Linked DNA regions of Homo sapiens: region 2 is linked to region 1. Evidence: promoter capture Hi-C in human tissues and cell types (Jung and others, 2019). All regions are on one chromosome and are shown on one strand. The core of a region is centred on a gene start or on the middle of the fragment in contact, and the rest is flanking DNA. Distances in the headings are between cores, read along the strand shown.

Region 1 (4,306 bases), core at 1,729-4,228:
AGCAAGAAAACAGGTATTGCACAAATTTCATCCTCATCTGAAGTCACTCCAAGGAAGCTTGGAAGCATGGGAACAAGACAACAGACAGAATCCCTTAGGCCTGGAGAAAGAAGAAAGGATCACAAGCTTCCTTTCCCCTTAACAGACCCAAGTGTCTGTAGAGCCCCAGGTGCCCCCACCTGGCCAAGTAGTTGGCCTTTTGGACCCCAAAAGTTCTCATATCCCAAGCCAAGGGGAAATTGGTCTACTCCAGCCAAGCCTCCTAGCCCCAGAAAGCCCATGGGGTCAGGACTTAGGGACAATCAGGGAACATATAAAAGGTCTTTCCTGCAATAATGGTCCCTAACAAGCCCTGAGCCAATCACCTGGTAGCTGGAGCCCAAAATACCTTCCAACCCAGGTAAGTAGATATTATATGGTGACTACAAAGATATATCCCATCAAGTGAGCAAACTTATCATATTCACATCCCTTTTTTGTTTCCATTCCTATTCATGTTTTCAATGTCCCCATTCTTCACTCGCCCCATCCCCCACTAAGTCCCTTTCTCCATTCATTGCAAGCCCTCTTAGTTTTTTCTTCTGGATCTGATGCCCTTAAGCCATCCCTCCTCTGTCTCCGATTCCAGGTCCACACCTTGCCCCTACTACGACCTCTCCCACTGGGCCCTGCCTGATCCTCTTTCTCTGCCCCTGTCCAGTTGCCCACCCTTGTCTCCCCCTCTTCTCCTCGCTCTATCCCCAGGATCCTGTGGGCGGCTGTGAATTTTGCCCTGTGCTTCCTTCTCTCCTCTCTCTTTGTGGTGGGGTCCACAGCCAGTTCTCCTGTTGCTCAAAAATGTGGAGGCAGTTGCTAAGAGACAGCGAAACGTCAGTACCTGGCCCTCGAGGAAAAAAAAGGGGAGTGAAAAAGGGAGAGAACTGGGGGAGGGATGGAGGGAGGGAGAGAGAGAGGGTGGGAAGGGGGGAGGGAGGGGGAAGACCTGGCTCTGGCGGAAGCCTTATACCCCAGCAGCCTGGGCACCAGCTGAGTTTCAGAAAGAAGCATTCAGATTCTGTGAACTTTCTTCCGAGCATCCTGTCTCTGTGATTTCCCTTTGGGTGAAAGAAGGGGCAGGGGGACCGCAGGACGGGAAATCATAGAAGATGCTGGCCTGGGATCCGGGAGACAAGGAGGAGGAGAGGCCGGGGGAGGGGAACAGCCTGGGAGGCAATCTGTTCTGAAGCAAGCAAGGAGCAAGCGGGGATTCCAGGAGGAGGGAGGGAGACCCGCGTCTGCCGCAGATTGATGGCTGTGTCCTTGGAACGGAGTGAGTAGGCTCCTGGGGCCTGTGGGAGTGCGAGGGGGAGACCTGGGGCTTAGAAAAATGAGTCTGCATGAAGGGGAGCTGGGGTGATTTCCAGGTGGGCGGGATTGAGGCTTGAAGCGGTAGGAAAATAGGCAGCGCCAGGCCGAGGGTGAGGGGAGGACCGAGGACAGCAGGTGGGCAAGGGAGAAGCGAGAGGGCGCGGGGCGCGAGGGCTGAGGCTCTGGGCGTGGCATCACTCTCGGTCCCTCTGCTGGGGGCGGCGAGGAGAGTGCAGTGTGTGGAAAGGGATGCTGGGATGAAGGGTGTGCGCTGAGAGGGGGGCGAAAGATGCTGGGGGTCGACTGGGGAGGGGTCTGCAGAATCGCCTGTGCAGAAGGAAGCTGGAGCGAAAACCGCGAGGCGTGAGCACGGGGCAGGGCAAAATACGGGGGAGTCACAGAATGGTGTGTGAGTGAGTGTGTGTGTGTGCGTGTGAGAGAGAGAGGAGTGCTTAGAGTGTTTGAAAGGGGTGTGCAAACCCCCAGAGTGTGGATGCAGATTTTTCTTAGGGAGTTGTTCAAGGGTGGCGTGTTTGGTACTAATGAGGGTGGGGTTATGAGAAGAAGAAGAAAATGCATCTAACCCAAGACAGGAACCCAGAGGAGGATGGCTGCAGGTTGGGTCAGGGAGGGCTCGTGGGTAACAGCAATGTGAGCCTGGGGTCTGAACCTACCATGGCCCACACCTGACAGACAGTAAGCAGAGAACTTTGTGGTTGGGGGAGCAAAGGAAAGAGACAAAGATAAGCCAAGCGTCCTAGGTGAAGGGACAAGGGAGTGTCAAGGGCACAGGATTTCTCTGCCTGAGTGCTTTCCTTGTTGACAGAGGGAATTTGGCCTCCACCTGCTGAACACAGAACTGCGCTGAGGAAGGCACTGGCTTGGAGAAGATGCCAGAGCTCTGCCAGCTGACACTCAGCCTGCACCTTCAGGACTCATGACTTCTTCTGGCCCCAGAGGCCCAGACAGTGGGCATCACCTGGGGTCCTCCTCTCTTTGGGAAAAAAAGAGGCTTCCTGGGGATTCCAGCAGCCACTGAGGCTGAGGACTCTCAGGCTTTTAGGAGGCCCATGGAGACTCACTTCCTCCCGGGCCCTTTTCCCAAAACACCCACCCTGGGACCCCCTTGGACTCCAGCCCACCAGGCCACCAGGACAAATGGCCTCTGAGACCTTCAACACTGAAGACCCAGGTGCAGCCCCGGCTTCCTAATCAGTCCCAGACGTGGGACAGGACTTAAGTTTTCTCAGAAGAAGTGCCAAGGATCTTTAAAGGGCACGTTTCATCTCCTTCAGCCCCTCCCTCCCAGACACAGCACCAAGAGGAAACATCCAGCAGGCATGGGTGAGAGAGACACAAAAGATCTGCAGGAACTCTTCCAGGACTTGCTGGCAGCTGACCTAGCCCCATTCTTGTCCCCTCCCTTTCTCAGGTTTTGATCATCATTCCAGACCCTAGGGGACCTCAACTGGGTGTCTTGCCCCCTAGGCTCCGGAAGGGGACCTCCCGTGGATCTCAGGAAGCCCTCTGGTGCTCAGAGGCTCCTGGGAAAGTCCCTAGCCATGATACCACATGCTCAGAAGCCCCACCTTCACAGACGCTGGCCCCAGATGTAGCTGCCTTCCTGTGTCACAGACTCTCGATTCCATGGACACAGTCCTCATGGGCTCCCTCCAGCACTGCTGTTGCCTGCTGCCTAAGATGGGTGACACTTGGGCCCAGCTTCCCTGGCCCGGGCCACCCCACCCAGCAATGCTGCTGATCTCCCTCCTCTTGGCAGCCGGGTTGATGCACTCGGATGCCGGCACCAGCTGCCCCGTCCTTTGCACATGCCGTAACCAGGTGGTGGATTGTAGCAGCCAGCGGCTATTCTCCGTGCCCCCAGACCTGCCAATGGACACCCGAAACCTCAGCCTGGCCCACAACCGCATCACAGCAGTGCCGCCTGGCTACCTCACATGCTACATGGAGCTCCAGGTGCTGGATTTGCACAACAACTCCTTAATGGAGCTGCCCCGGGGCCTCTTCCTCCATGCCAAGCGCTTGGCACACTTGGACCTGAGCTACAACAATTTCAGCCATGTGCCAGCCGACATGTTCCAGGAGGCCCATGGGCTAGTCCACATCGACCTGAGCCACAACCCCTGGCTGCGGAGGGTGCATCCCCAGGCCTTTCAGGGCCTCATGCAGCTCCGAGACCTGGACCTCAGTTATGGGGGCCTGGCCTTCCTCAGCCTGGAGGCTCTTGAGGGCCTACCGGGGCTGGTGACCCTGCAGATCGGTGGCAATCCCTGGGTGTGTGGCTGCACCATGGAACCCCTGCTGAAGTGGCTGCGAAACCGGATCCAGCGCTGTACAGCAGGTAATAGAGGGGCAGAACGGGGCAGTCAACAGGGAGGGCTTGCCTCAATGGGAAGCAAAGGCTCCAAAGAAAGCGGGGGAACTTAGAGCCAGAAAGCACCTACTGCATTTTCTAATGTGGGCTTGCCTCTTTGTACACCAGCTCGGCCAACAGGTTGTTTGTAGAATCCTTCCAGTGCATGTGAGGCACCGAGGGCCCATTCATTCATTAAATAGATGTCCCTCACCACTGCGCTGCTCATGACCTAATGAGGCAGACGGATAGTAGACAAGTGAGAATAGCCTATGGTTGGTGGTTTTTATTGAGCTTTCACCATGACCTAAGATCTTGGCATCCATTATCTCATGAGACCCCCATTTTTATTATACCCATTTTCCAGGTGAAGAAACTGAGATTTAGAACAATAAAAAGGCTTGACAGGAATCACACACTTAGAAAGTGGCAGGGCCATGAAAAAAATACAAATTAAAAAATTAAAAAGTGGCAGGACCATGAATAAAACCTAGATTTATCTGACTTCTAAGCCCTGTTCTAATCTACCAGAATGCTTTTTTAGCATTCCAAGTGTTGGAAACTCTCGTATAAATAGTAATGACT
Region 2 (4,348 bases), core at 109-2,608, 46 kb before region 1:
GAGACTTGCTCTGGATTAGGCTTTGGCTTGAGGTAGTATTGTGTGGCTAGTTTGATCTTCTATCCAGACCACAAAAACTTCCTCCACATCAGTAATAAGGCTGTTTTGCTTCCTTATGATTCGTGTGGTCACTGGAATAGCACTTTTAACTTCCTTCAAGGACTTTTTTTTTTTTTTTTTTTTTGCATTCACAACTTGGCCAACTGTTTGGTATGACAGGCCTAGCTTTCAGCATATCTCAGCTTTTGACATTAGTGAAAGCTTTGGACATTCATGAAAGACATTAGTGAGCCTTGCTCACTAAGCTTAATCATTTCTACCTTTGATATAGAGTAAGAGACGTACAACTCTTCCTTTCACTTGAACACTTAGAGGCCCTTGCAGGGTTACTAATTGGCCTCATTTCAACTTTGTTGTGTCTCAGGGACTAGGGAGGTCCAAGGAGAGGAAGAGAGATGTTGAATGGCCAGTCAGTGGTGTAATCAAAACACTCACGACTTGTATGGATTAGTGTTGTATACGGGCATGGTTTGTGGTGCTCCAAAACAATTACAGTAATAACATCAATGATCACTGATCACAGATCACCGTAACAGATAAACAATAACGAAAAAGTTTGAAATATTGAATTACCAAAATTTGACAGAGACACACAGTAAACACATGCTGTTGAGAAAATGCCACCAATAGACTCGCTTGATGCAGGGTTACCACAATCCTTCTATTTGTAATGAAAACACAATATCTGAGAGGCATAATAAAGCGAAGCGCAATGAAAGAAGGTATACTTGTATGTCAGTAATAGCATAGAAGATGGGTTTAGATAAGTGCTGTCTTTCTGTTGTAAGATTCTTGCATTTCACAGGAAGTGATGCAATATTAGTTAAAGGTAGACTTGATAAATTAAGAATATGTATATTGCCTGGAGCAGCACTAAAAAAATACAAAAAAAATAGTTAAAAAGTCAATAGAGAAATTAAAATGGACAGCTACAAAATATTTGATTATCCCAAAGAAGGCAGGAAAGGAGGGAAAGAGGGACAAATAAACACATGATACAGAAAGCAGTCAAATACCAGTAAAGTATATTGAGAAACTGACAATATTATTAATTATTCTAAATGTAATAATATTGGGACTAAAGCCTCCAATTAGGCAGGAGAGACTTCTGGTTTGGCAAAATGAAGAGGTCAGCAAATCTTCTCCCCAAAAAGCAACTATATATACTAAAATCAAAACTGTCAAAAACAATGATTCAGAGCTCTGAAAATCAAACAGAGCCATACAGCAAATAAAGTTTGTATTCATGAAAAACTGCTAAATTTGGGATAAGAACTGCAGGAGTTTGTGGTATTCAAGCTTCAGACTGAAGCTGCTTTCATCCTCCCCATCCCCATCCAGCTTGGTCGGCAGGGTAGTTCTAGCCCAATGGGACTGGCTGTGAAAACCAGCAACTTGCTGCAGAGAGGACTCACTTGGTTTGGAATGGGAGGGAAAAAAAAATCCATATCCATCATCCCTGTCAGTAATGCTAGCAATCTTCGTGACCAGTAAACTGGGAAAGCCAACAACTCTACTAACCTGAGATTGCAGTCCTGGTGGAAGACTAACCAGAAAGTTAACAAGGAGATTCAGGAAACCAGATAGTCCTAAAGGGGCTTCACAGATCCCTGGTGCACGAGGATGCAGAGCACATGCAGAGAAGATGAAAGATGGCCTACCTGAGAGTAACGGCCAGGGCTGACCTGAAAACTTCCTGAACTTTGATAACCCACACAGATCTGATAGAAGTGTATGGAAGCCTCACTAGCTTGAGGTGTGTGGTAGGCAGAATAAAGTCCTCTCTTCCCCGCCCCCCCACAAAGATGTTCAGGTCTGATCCTATAACTTGTGACTATGTTAAGGGCATATGGGACTTTGCAGACGGGATGAAGGTTAAGGACCCTGAGATAGTTTATCTTGGATTATCCTGGTGGGCCCAATCTAGTCACAGGACTCTTTAAAAGCAGGCTTTGAAGATGGAGAACATAAGCCATAGACAAGCAAGGTTAATGCCGTCTAGAAATTGGAAAAGGCAAGGAAACTGATTCTTCCCCAGAGCCTTCAGAATGGAATGCAGCCTTAGCTGGGCACAGTGACACACCTGTAATCTCAGCACTTTGGGAGGCTGAGGTGGGTGGGTCGCTTGAGGTCAGGAGTTGGAGACTAGCCTGGCCAACATGGTGAAACTCCATCTCCACTAGAAACACAAAAATTAGCCGATATAGTGGAGGGTGCCTGTAATCCCAGCTACTTGGGAGGCTGAGGCATGAGAATCTCTTGAACCTGGGAGGCGGAAGTTGCAGTGAACCAAGATCGTGCCACTGTACTCCAGCCTAGGCAACGGAGCACGACAAGAAGAAGAAGAAGAAGGAGAAGGAGAAGGAGGAGGAGGAGGAGGAGGAGGAGGGGGAGGGGGAGGGGGAGGGGGAGGGAGAGGGAAGAGAAGGAGAAGGAGAAGAAGAAGGAAAAGGAGAAGAAAAGAAGAAGAAGAAGGAGGAGGAGGAAGAGGAAGGAGGAGGAGGAATAGGAAGGAGGAGGAGGAAAAGGAAGGAGGAGGAGGAGAAGGAGGAGGAGGAGGAGAAGGAGGAGGAGGAGGAGAACAAGGAGGAGGAGGAGGAATACAGCCTTGCCAATGCCATGATTTTAGCCCAATGATTCCCAAAGAGGACTAAAATAGTAAGTTTATTTTGTTTAGACACTAAGCTTGTGGTACATGTCAGCAATAGAAAAACTAATACAAGGTGTTTGATCACAACCTGTGACCAAACATCAGCTGACTCCTAAACTATGAAGAAAATAGAAGCAACCCCTAGGAATTCAGGCTTAAAATAAAATAGTTTTTTTACAAACTGAGGAAAGACATCAGTAGCAACACATCACAAGGAAGACAGTATCCACAGATTTAGTCCAGGTAAGCTACTAAACAAACAAGCAGCAACAATAACCATTCCCAGGAGGCATCGCAGTCCAGAACTGCTACAATATATTACCTACATTATCCAGTTTGGAACAACAAAAAGCTATGAGACATGCAAAGATATAGGAAAACATGATCCACACTCAGTAAAAAAAATTTAGTCAATAGGAATGGTCTCTGAGTGGGCCCAGATGTTGGATTTAGCAGACAAAGTCTTTAAAACCAATAATTATGTTCAGAGAACTAAAGGAAACAATGTTTAAAAAATCAACAAAAATATGAATCAATGACTCAACAAATAAAGAATCTTAATAAGGAGATGGAAGTCATGCAAAAGAACCAAATAAAATTTTAGAGTTGAAAAGTTCAGTAACTTTCTAAAATGAAAAAGTTAATGTTTTTAGTATTGTTGTGGTGAGCAACCAACAGACTTTAGATGACGGAAGAAAGAATCAGTGAACTTGAAGACAGATTAATGGAAACGATCCAATACAATAGAGAGAAAGAAACAAATACTGAATAAAGATAAAAAGAGCCTCAAGAGACCTGTTCATGTCTCATGTGTCACACATGTTCATGTTCATGTGTAACACTGTACTCATTTCCTAGGGCTGCTCTAACAAAGTACCACAAACTGGATGGCTTAAAATAACAGACATTTATTATCTCACAGCTCTAGAGGCTAGAAATCCAAAATCAAGGTGTTAGTAGGCCTATACTCTCTAAAGACTCTAGGGGAGAATCCTTTCTTGCTTCTTCTAGCTTCTGATGGTTGCTGGCAATCTTGACATTCCTTGGCTTGTAGACTCATCACTGCAATCACATGTTCTTCTCCCTATGTGTCTTTACATCATCTTCCCTCTGTGCATGCCTCTGTGTCCAAATTTCTTTCTTCTTATAAGGAGAGCAGTCATTGGAATAGGGCCCAACCTAATCCATTATAACCTCATCTGCACTTGACTTACATTTGCAAAGACCGTATCTCCAAATAAGGTCACATTCTGAGGTTCTGGGTAGACATGAACTTCTGCGGGCACTACTTAACCCAATAGGGATATCATCAAGCATCCCAACATACTGTCAAAACAGTCCCAAAGCAGCAGCATAGTGGCTAACAGGGATATAGGAATCGCTACTGCAGTTTACCACAATTTCATAGATTAGGCCAGTAAAAAGACAATAAGCTCAAATGGATTCAGACAGTTTATTACTTATACTGATGAAAAATCAGTCAGCATAATGTTAGCTTCCTATGTCCTAGCTCCACAAGACACCACCAAGTGAGAGGGGCCAGATAACAGGATGCTCAGGCAGTGGGTGGCTGTGCTATTGAGGGGCTCCTTCTAAATACAGCCAGCAAATTAATAGACATACACAGAAGTCAGCAGC

Evidence for each region. The method cuts DNA at HindIII sites, captures the fragments that hold promoters and counts their contacts. A contact is called where the count stands out against the background at its distance.
Region 2: a fragment that was not itself captured here is called in contact with the fragment with the promoter of LRRC55 in region 1 in 4 of the 25 tissues and cell types used here (H1 embryonic stem cells, aorta, pancreas and 1 more).

What each region holds. Positions count from the first base shown.
Region 1 is chr11:57,178,975-57,183,280 of GRCh38, forward strand. It overlaps LRRC55 (leucine rich repeat containing 55), which reads left to right and starts at 2,979. Exons shown (of 2, transcript NM_001005210.4): 1 at 2,979-3,709. The coding sequence starts at 3,049. All of the region lies in intron 4 of LOC105369309 (a long non-coding RNA gene), which reads right to left. RefSeq lists a silencer at 3,381-3,675. The HindIII fragment of the contact is 8,931 bases long and covers 1-4,306 here.
Region 2 is chr11:57,134,359-57,138,706 of GRCh38, forward strand. The region is part of intron 6 of LOC105369309 (a long non-coding RNA gene); the gene reads right to left. Among named protein-coding and RNA genes, the nearest start is that of LRRC55, 45 kb to the right of the region's middle. The HindIII fragment of the contact is 4,484 bases long and covers 1-3,600 here.